Regions from separate parts of the Homo sapiens genome. Here region 2 is linked to region 1. Evidence: promoter capture Hi-C in human tissues and cell types (Jung and others, 2019). All regions are on one chromosome and are shown on one strand. Each heading gives the region's core, a stretch centred on a gene start or on the middle of the fragment in contact. The rest is flanking DNA. Distances are from core to core; before and after follow the strand shown.

The links. The method cuts DNA at HindIII sites, captures the fragments that hold promoters and counts their contacts. A contact is called where the count stands out against the background at its distance.
Region 2: a contact is called between a fragment that was not itself captured here and the fragment with the promoter of CBS in region 1, in 9 of the 25 tissues and cell types used here (H1 embryonic stem cells, IMR-90 fibroblasts, aorta and 6 more).

Annotation. Positions count from the first base shown.
Region 1 is chr21:43,073,088-43,078,073 of GRCh38, reverse strand. CBS (cystathionine beta-synthase) reads left to right here and starts at 2,239. Exons shown (of 17, transcript NM_000071.3): 1 at 2,239-2,304; 2 at 4,733-4,808. The HindIII fragment of the contact is 35,360 bases long and covers 1-4,986 here.
Region 2 is chr21:42,922,234-42,927,219 of GRCh38, reverse strand. ERVH48-1 (endogenous retrovirus group 48 member 1, envelope) reads left to right here and starts at 1,590. Exons shown (of 2, transcript NM_001308491.2): 1 at 1,590-1,874. RefSeq lists enhancers at 412-933, 934-1,455. The HindIII fragment of the contact is 3,226 bases long and covers 580-3,805 here.

The DNA.
Region 1 (4,986 bases), core at 990-3,489:
ACACCACTGCACTCCAGCGTGGGGGGGAGGTTGCAGTGAGCTGAAATCACACCACTGCACTCCAGCGTGGGTGACAGAGAAAGATTCTGTCTCAAAAAGAAACAAAACAAAACAAAATAACAAGTTAGAGAAACCAGATAGACTGAGTGACAGATTCATACACACCTGCACACGTGTGTGTGTGTGTGTGTGTGTGTGTGTGTGTGTGGAGAGACAGAGAGGGAGCAAATGTAGTAAAAACTTAACATTTGAAATAACAATGAGTTTCTGATAATAGAAGCAAAAAAAATTAATATTTGGAAAATCTGGATGAGGGAATATGACATTCTGTATGGTTCTTGCCACTTTTCTAATCTAAAATTACGTTAAAATTTCTAAAAAATTAAAAAGTATTTGGGCTGTGTAACAAATTACTGCAAACTTGAGTGGTTTAAAACAACACACATTGGGCTGGGCGCGGTGGCTCACTCCTGTGAGCCTAGCACTTTTGGGAGGCCGAGGCGGATGGATCACCTGATGTTAGGGGTTCGAGACCAGCTTGGTCAACATGATGAAACCCCGTCTCTACTAAAAATACAAAAATTAGCCTGGCATGGTGGTGCGTGCCTGTAATCCCAGCTACTCGGGTGGCTGAGGCAGGAGAATCGCTTGAACCCGGGAGGCTGAGGCTGCAGTGAGCCAAGATCTCACCATTGCACTCCAGCCTGTGTGACACAGACTCTGTCTCAAACAACAACAACAAAAACAACACCGTTTATCATCTTTCTCTCCCGCAGGCTGGCTGAAGGCTCTGAGGGAGGCCCTGGCCACCTTTCCCAGCCCTGTGGAGGCCGCCAGCCATCCCTGCCATTTCTCGTCTGGTGGCAGCACATCTCATCTCTGCCGCCATCTCCACATGGCCTTTTTCTCTCCGCGTGTCTGTGTCCACGTCTCTCTTCTTATAAAGACTGGACAGGATTTTTTTTTTTTTTTTTTTTTTTTTTTTTTTTTCTGGAGACAGTCTCGCTCAGTCGCACAGGCTGGAGGACAGTGGCGCGATCCCGGCCTCCAATGCCACCTTCCAGAGCCTTCATGATGTAACTCCATCCCTGTCCCCTCCCCACATCGCCGGCTTTATTGTTCTTCGTGTCAGTTCCTGCCAGTGGACATTTAATTCTAATTCACGTCTCACTCCCTCCCCTACTGTGAGCCCCACGTGGCAGAGACCGCGGCGGAGCTGCGCGGGCCGGAGGAGGCTGCGGAGCATCGCTCTGACCTGAGCCGGGGACGCTGCGGAGGCGCAGCACGTTCCTCTGCCCAGAGCTGATGGGCACCGTCCGTGTCTTTCGCTGCAGGTCCGGGGGGAGACTCGGGGGCCTGGGATCCCCCATTTAGCCATAGGGCGGGGGGATCAGGTTCAGCCTCTGAAAGTCCAGAGCACGATGTTTGGGAAACGGCCCCGCCCGCGGCCTCCGGGACCTGGCGAAGGAGCCCCGCGGGGCGCCCCTGCTACCACCCTGCGCGGAGTCGGCCCCGTCCCCGAGAGCGCCCGGCAGCCCCTGGCCGTGGGCCGCACCGGAGCCGCGCAAGGCGACTGTTCTGCGCCTCGGCTCGGGGTTCGGACCCGGCTCTGGGCGCGGTCACGCGGGGCGCTGCGCACGGCGTCCGGCGGCCACAGAGCGCGGCCATCGAGTCCCGCCCCGGCGCGGCGCCCCCTCCCGGGCCCGCGACACACGCCCTCGGGGTCGGTCCTCGAGGACGCGCAGGGCCCCCCACCCACCAGGACGCACGTTTCAAGCTCATCAGTAAAGGTTCCTTAAATTCCCGAAGGGCAAGAAGTTAACCAAGTAAAACAGCATCGGAACACCAGGTAGAAGACACCACCGGGGTCCGCGGGTGGGGGTGGCTGGAACCCGGGGCGGGCGGGCTCAGGCGAAGAGGAAGGCGGGGGAGGGGGCGGCGACCCGGGTCTGCGGTTGAATCAACAGGGCGTGGGAATGGGGCGGGCGGACTGGGGTGGGGGCATGCCGGGGTCCCGGGGAGGGCGGGGGTCGGGCAGGCCGGAGGGTCCCAGGCTGCGGCGGGGTGGGGAAGGGGTGGGGGGGAGGGGCCCGGGCTGGGTGGGGTGGAGGAGGGGCTGGGGGGGCGGGTGCTCTGCCACGAGACATTGGCCGGCGCCGGCCTCCGCCCCCGCCTCTCCGCCAATCACCGCCCGCCTGCTCCCCTCGCCGTGGGTCCCCGCGAGGCCGCCACCCCGGGGTCGCCGTCTCCGCCTCGCCGCAGTCGGGGCAGCCGCTCGCCCCTCTTTTCCATGTATCCGTCCAGGTGAGATCCGGCCCCACCGAGACTCGCTCCCCTCTCTGGACAGAGGATCTCAACTGGGTCCCGGTTTCCCTCTCCGCGCCTCCGCCCAGAGTTGCATCATCTGCACCGAAAGGCGGCGAGACAGGGTCTCCCAAGACCCCCGCCCCACCGGCGCCCACGCCTGCGGTCTTGACCGCCCAGAAGATGGGGGCTGGCCGTGCACGTGGCCCCGGGCTCCCACCCCAGCCCCCGCGCCGGCGGAGTGGACCCCACTGGCGGCGAGTCCTGGAGCGTGGAGCAGGGACGCGGGGTGGGAATCCGGGGGAGATGCACGTTTCGGTGCCCAGCATTGAGTTCGCTGCATTGTGGATGGGAAATGGCTGTTTGCAAATCGCCCTTTTTGGCGGACCGTGTGGGGTGGCGGTAAACGCTGTCGTTGCGCGGGCGGCACGCGAGGTGGGTGCCCGCTGGGGGAGGGACGCGGGGCTCTGCCCAGGTTGCGTTCGGGGGATGGAGGTTTTCCTGGGACCTCACTTCCCTGAGCCCCAGGCGAGACCGCAGCTGAGCTGTAGGATGCAAGCGGGAGGCGGAGCGTGGGTGGGAGAGCGGAGCGCGAAATTCTCGGCTTCCCGAGGATCTTCTGGGCTTACTTGTCCCCAGCTTTGTCCCAAAGTGTCGCTTCCGGAGGCGGAGTGGCCGGCGGTTTCCGGGTCTCAGTAGGGTCTGGATCTCCCACCTGGAAACCTAGAGGAGTTTCCCGCTCTCCGTGCGCGTGGCCTTCCCCAGGCCCCTCCGGGAGTGCTGGCGCGCGAGTGCAGGGGTGCCCCGGGAACGTCGTGACCCCAAGGGGGTCTTGTGGTTTAAGGAGCGAACGGAACCGGCCAGGCGATGCCAGCTGAACCCGCCTTCCCGGGACGCACGTGCATCCGGCCGCCCGGCGCTGTTGTCTTGGGGAGCCCGCGGGTTCGGGTCTGGGTCGCCTGGCGAGCTTTCCGCCGAGCGCCTCTGAGTTCTACAGAGCCCCGACGGCTTGCGATCTGCGTTCCCGGCAGTCCCTTACCTTGCGAGAGAGGGCTCCAGGGCGAGGCGAGGGGCCAAAAGCAAGGCGCTGGGCCGCCTGCGTCTGCCGGGGCCTCGGGTCCACGGCTTTCTGGAAGATTCGGCGGCGGAGCATGCGCGCCCCAGGCCAGACAGGGCCTGTGCCAGACGGAGAGTCCCTTCCCGTAGGTGACTCCCGCGACCCGCGGAGGAAGGTGCTGCTCCGCTCACGGCGGCGGCTTCTTACAAGGTTGGGATAGAAAGAAAAGCGTGGGACACGAACCTCTGAAAGCGGGTGCATTTTTCTGGGGAAGAGAAGATCCAACGCCTTCGGATTTTCAGACAAGTCCGTGGTCCCAAGACCTTGAAAGCACCACCCTCCAGGGTCGTTTGAAGCCGCTTTGGCCCCCAGTCTGGTGAATTGCAAAGGTGGAGGGGAGGCTGGGAAGTCCAGGAGGCCAAGCTGAGGCCTGGGTAGGGCCTGTGCGCAGAGACCACCTGAACAGCATACTCCAAGGGCTTCCAAAGGCAGCCGGCTTCCGCAACTTTTTCTTTTTTAATAGGCTTTTTAAAAAAAAAGCAGTTTTAGGCCGGGCGGGGTGGCTCACTCCTATAATCCCAGCACTTTGAGAGGCTAGGCGGGCGAATCACCTGAGGTCAGGAGTTCGAGACCAGCCTGGCCAACATGGTGAAACTTCGTCTCTACTAAAAATACAAAAATTAGCCGGATGTGGTGGCGGGCGTCTGTAATCCTACTCAGGAGGCTGAGACAGGAGAACTGCTTGAACCCGGGAGGTGGAGGTTGCAGTGAGCCGAGATCGCACCACTGCTCCAGCCTGGGCAACAAGAGGGAGACTCCGTCTCGAAAATTTAAAAAAGAGCAGTTTTAGATTTAGAAAAATTGAAAAAATAGATAGAGTTCCCCCAGTTTCCCCTGTTATTAAGATCTTAAACTGATGTCGTATATTTGTTACTTTATTTATTTTCTTTTATTTTTATTTTTATTTTTATTTTTTGAGACGGAGTCTCGCTCTGTTGCCAGGCTGGAGTGCAGTGGCGCGATCTCGGCTCACTGACCTCCCCCTCCCGGGTTCAAGCGATTCTCCTGCCTCAGCTTCCCGAGTAGCTGGGACTACAGGTGTGCGCCACCATGCTTGGCTAATTTTTGTAGTTTTAGTAGAAACGGGGTTTCACCATGTTGGCCAGGATGGTCTCGATCTCTTGACCTCATGATCCGCCCGCCTCGGCCTCCCAAAGTGCTGGGATTACAGGCGTGAGCCACCGCGCCCGGCCTATTTGTTACAATTAATGAGCCAATTCCACGATCACATAACCATTGTTGACATTAACCAAAGTCCGCGCTTGAGTCAGATTTGCAGAGTTTTCTCCTCACTGCCCTTTTCTATTCCAGGATCCCATGACAGATTCTGTTGTCACGTCTCCTTACAGAGTTTGAGCGGTGCTGAACTGTCAGCACCATCTGTCCGGTGAGTGACGGCTGTGGACTTAGTCTTCCTGTTGAATGTGGGGAATCAAAGGAGGGTGAAGCGGGGCTGAGCCCAGTCCTGGGCCCTCTGAAGAAGGCAAGGTGGGAGGTGGTCGTGGGTTCCTTGTCCCCCCAGAGGAGGGGCAGCAGATGGGACCTCGCCTGGCTTTCTTTTTGCT
Region 2 (4,986 bases), core at 943-3,442, 150 kb after region 1:
CATGTAGTCCCTGAATACCTGCTTCACTCATTACAATCACGTTTCTAAATTTGTGGAATTTGTGATACAAAGAACAAGCCAATAAATCGCTTATGTATTTTAATGTAAATTGTTGGCGAGGAATTTAGCAACTGCCTCTTTTTTCCTTTAAAAATCCACTTGTTGGCCGGGCGCGGTGACTCACGCCTGTAATCCCAGCACTTCGGCAGGAGAGGCGGGCGGATCACGAGGTCAGGAAATTGAGACCCTCCTGGCTAACACAGTGAAACCCCGTCTCTACTAAAAATACAAAAAAATTAGCCGGGCGTGGTGGCGGGTGCCTGTAGTCCCAGCTACTCGGGAGGCTGAGGCAGGAGAATGGCGGGAACCCGGGAGGCGGAGCTTGCAGTGAGCCGAGATCGCGCCACTGCACTCCAGCCTGGGCGACAGAGCGAGACTCCGTCTCAAAAAAAAAAAAAAAAAAAAAAACCAAGAAACAAAAAACAAAAAACCCACTTGTGGGCAGGTGCGGATGGCTCATGCCTATAATTTCAGCTCTTTGGGAGGCCAAGGCAGGCCAGATCATTTGAGGTCATTTGAGGTCATTTGAGGTCAGGAGTTTGAGACCAGCCTGGCCAACATGGCTAAACCCCATCTCTACCAAAAAAAAAAAAAAAAAAAAAAAAAAAAAAATTAGCTGGGCGTGATGGCGTGCACATGTAATCCCAGGTACTCAGGAGGCTGAGGCAGGACAATCGCTTGAACCCGGGAGATGGAGGTTGCACTGAGCCAAGATGGCACCACTGCAGTCCAGCCTGGGCAATAGAGTTAGACTCTGTCTCAGAATTAAAAAAAAAAATCCCACTTGAGGCCAGGCACAATGGCTCACGCCTGTAATCCCAGCGCTTTGGGAGGCCGAGGCAGATGGGTTACTTGAGGCCAGGAGTTTGATGCCATTTTGGGTGCGGATGTGGAAAATCTGAGACAGGTTTTTTTTTTTGAGATGGAGGCTCGCTCTGTCGTCCAGGCTGGAGTGCGGTGGCGCGATCTCCGCTCACTGCAAGCTCTGCCTCCCGGGTTCAGGCCATTCTCCTGGCTCAGCCTCCCAAGTAGCTGGGACTACAGGCGCCTGCAACCATGCCCGGCTAATTTTTTGTATTTTTAGTAGAGACGGGGTTTCACCGTGTTAGCCAGGACGGTCTCGATCTCCTGACCTCGTGATCTGCCCGCCTGGGCCTCCCAAAGTGCTGGGATTACAGGTGTGAGCCACCGTGCCCGGCTGAGACAGGTCTCTTGTTAATTTAGAAAGTTTATTTTGCCAAGGTTGGGCAGGGACCTGTGACACCGCCTCAGGAAGTCCTGATTGAAAGATTCTCCCAGGGGCCTGAAAGCTTGAGGGAATGAGTAACTCCTCCTCCTCAGGCCCAGTCCCAACGCTCAAACTTGCACCAGCAGCAAGATAGCAGAGGCAGGAAAAGAGCTGGCTGGAAGACACATACTCTCTGAAGATCAAGGGGGAGGCCGTCCGCGTACTACATAGCAGTCACGTCAGGCTGGGACAATTCCTGTTTACAGAGAACTATAAAAGCCCTGCCCCCTCCTCACTTGGGGCTGATGCCATTCTAGGCCTCAGTCTGTCTGCATCCAGGTGCTTATTAAAACAGTGTGTTGCTCCACACCGCCTCGTGTTGTCTGTTGGCGCGCTCTCCGGGTTCCAACCAATGCAAGAGCCTTGGGGCTGGCCCTGAAACCTGCGAGGGGCTTCCGTCCACGTCCCCAGTGGACCTACCACCCCTCCATCTGGGAAAGCAGGCCACAGCAGCCGGACAAAGGAAGCTCCTCAGCCTCTAGTCGCCTCTCTGTGCATGCACATCGGTCACTGATCTCGCCTACTGGTAAGTTTCCTGGGAGCCCGGTTAACAGGGAAAAATCCGCACGGCCTCTCTTGGTTTCTCCAGCCCCAAAATCCAACATGGGTCCAAGAAGGCTATGGCATGGCCGGGCGTGGTGGTTCACGCCCGTAATCCCAGCACTTTGGGAGGCCAAGGCCGTTGGATTCACGAGATCAGGAGTTCGAGACCAGCCTGGTCAACATGGTGAAACTCCGTCTCTACTAAAAATACAAAAATTAGCTGGGCACAGTGGCAGGCCCCTGTAATCCCAGCTACTCGGGAGGCTGAGGCAGGAGGATCGCTTGAACCCGGGAGGTGGAGGTTGCAGTGAGCAGAGATCGCGCCACTGCACTCTAGCCTGGGTAACAGAGCAAGACTCTGTCTCAAAAAAAAAAAAAAATGCTAAGGTGTGTGCCAGGCACTCGCTGATCATCTGGTCTTAGGGGGACTCTAAGCCAGTTGATCCCATTCTGGGAATGAAAAAGGCAGCGGTGACAAACGCTCCTTTTATCGTCTCCCTCCGGCTGTCCAGGACGGTCTGCTTTTCCCGTTCTCCTGAGCCTACCCTCCATTATGGAAAATTCCCAGTCTTCCATTCCAAAGGACAGCCCTCTAGGCTGCCTCATGAAAAACCTGCAAACCTTAGACCTCAGGCGAGATATCCCTCTAAGCACCTTGTTCTTTTTTTGCAATTCAGTCTGGCCACAGTACAAATTGGACAGTGGGTCCAAATGGGCCACAAATGGAACATACGACTTTACAATTTTAACTGACTTAAGCAATTATTGCTGACGGCTGGAAAAATGGGGAGAAATTCCTTATATCCAGGCCTTGTTCACACTCAGATTACAACCTGGCCTCTGCTCTTGCTCACCTGTTCAAATCCTCCCCCTCCATTCTCGCCGCCCTGATCGCCGTTCTCCTCCCGACCCTAACTCTTTTTCCTTGTTGGATCCAGCCAACTGCTGTCCACCCCTTCCAGCCCCTGCCTCTTCCTCTCAACCGTCTTCTTTAACCCCCTAAGCCTCCTCTTTGTCTTCCCAGCCAGCACTGCCTCCAAGAGTATCCACTTCTTTTCCTACACCATCCTCTCCTCAGGACAATTCTTGCACTGCCTGTACCCATTCTCCTCCCCCACCGCTCTCTCCTGAGGCCTGTAAACCCACCCCGCCACCTTCCGCTCCTATCTATCCTCTGCTGCCTATTAACTCAACCCTCCTTCCCCCTTCAAACCCTCAGCAGGAACCACTTCCGGCTTTTCTTTCTTTCCCGCCTATACTCATTCAGGCATTGCTTTTGGCCCATGCCCCACCCTTACTTCAGCGTCTGTGCTAGAATGCCCCCTTCGGGAAGTAGCAGGAACTGAAGATCTTATTAGAGTTCATGTTCCCTTCTCCCTCACTGATCGCTCTTGAATTCACAAAAGACTCGGTTTATTTCCAGAATACCCTGCCTCTTATATTAGAGAGTTTCAGTACCTCACCCAGTCTTATGAACTAACTTGGCATGACCTCTACGTTATCCTCTCTTCCACGCTCACCCCAGAAGACTGGGACCGTATCTGGACCCTAGCTCAGGCACATGCTGATACAATTCATCACCAAGCTGCCGCCCAGCCTGCTGGCACAGAGGCAGTCCCCAGCCAGGACCCCCACTGGGATTATCAAGATGGGGCCTTTGGATGCTGCCATCGAGACCACATGATTGTGTGTCTCCTTGCAGGACTCAAAAAGTGTGCCCATAAAGCGGTAAACTATGAAAAACTTTTAGAAATCACCCAAGGTCCTGACGAAAACCCAGCCCTTTTTCCTCTCTTGTTTAATGGAAGCCATGAGAAAATATACCAACCTAGACCCAGCCAGCCCAGAAGGAACCACTATCTTAAGCCTTCGGTTCATCTCCCAACCCATCCCTGATATCCAGCTCAAGCTTCAGAAGCTTGACGATGGCCCTCAAACCCCACAACGAGACCTTCTCAATTTAGCCCTCAAAGCCTTTAATAATTGTGATGAAGAAAGTGAAAGGCAAAAACAGGCAGAGTTTCGAATGCTTGCCTCCGCCATCGGGAGGCCCTGCAGGCCCACGGGGCCGCAGCTCCACACGGGAGCCTCCTAGCAAGCCACCTGCACCTGGCGTCTGTTTCAAGTGTGGCAATGAAGGCCACCGGTCCAGGCAATGCCCAAACCCAGGTAAGCCCCCCAGGCCGTGCCCCCTCTGCAGAGGACCCCACTGGAAGTCGGACTGTGAGCGGCCCCTGCAAGGACCGCCTCCATCCCTTCCTGAGCCGGCCAAAACCTACTCGATCTCATCGGCCTTGCCGCTGAAGACTGACAGTGCCCTGGAACGGACACCCCGGCAACTACCATTGCCTCATCTGAGCCAAGGGTAACCCTGATAATGGCAGGTAGGCCAGTATGTTTTTAAAATTAATATCAAGTCAACCTACTCTGCTTTACCTAATTTTTCAGGACTCACCGAGTCCTCCCAGGTCTCTGTTGTGGGAATTGATGGACAACTGATGGTCTCCAAATCCCGAGCCCCCCTCCACCCTTCTGCTCCCTTCATGCCTTTTCCTTCACTCACTTTTTTTTTTTTTTTTTTTTTTTTTTGAGACGGAGTCTGGCTCTGTCTCCCAGGCTGGAGTGCAGTGGCGCAATCTCCGCTCACTGCAAGCTCCGCCTCCCGGGTTCACGCCATTCTCCTGCCTCAGCCTCCCGAGTAGCTGGGACTACAGGCGCCCGCCACTATGCCGAGCTAAATTTTTGTATTTTTAGTAGAGACGGGGTTTCACCGTGTTATCCAGGATGGTCTCGATCTCCTGACCTCATGATCCACCCACCTCGGCCTCCCAAAGTGCTGGGATTACAGGCTTGAGCCACCGCGCCCGGCCTTCCTTCACTCACTCTTAGTCCTGCCCTCATGCCCAACTCCACTCCTAGGCAGAGCCATGCTTTCAAAACTCCACACCACTCTCCACTCCCACGTTCCCCTAGTACCCAACGCATCCACCCAGACCCCTCCAGGGCTTCTAACTTTCTTCTACTCCTGCAACCTCCCACCCTAAAACATGCAACCTTTCCTTATCCCCCATCCATGGTTAACCCCGCTGTTTTGA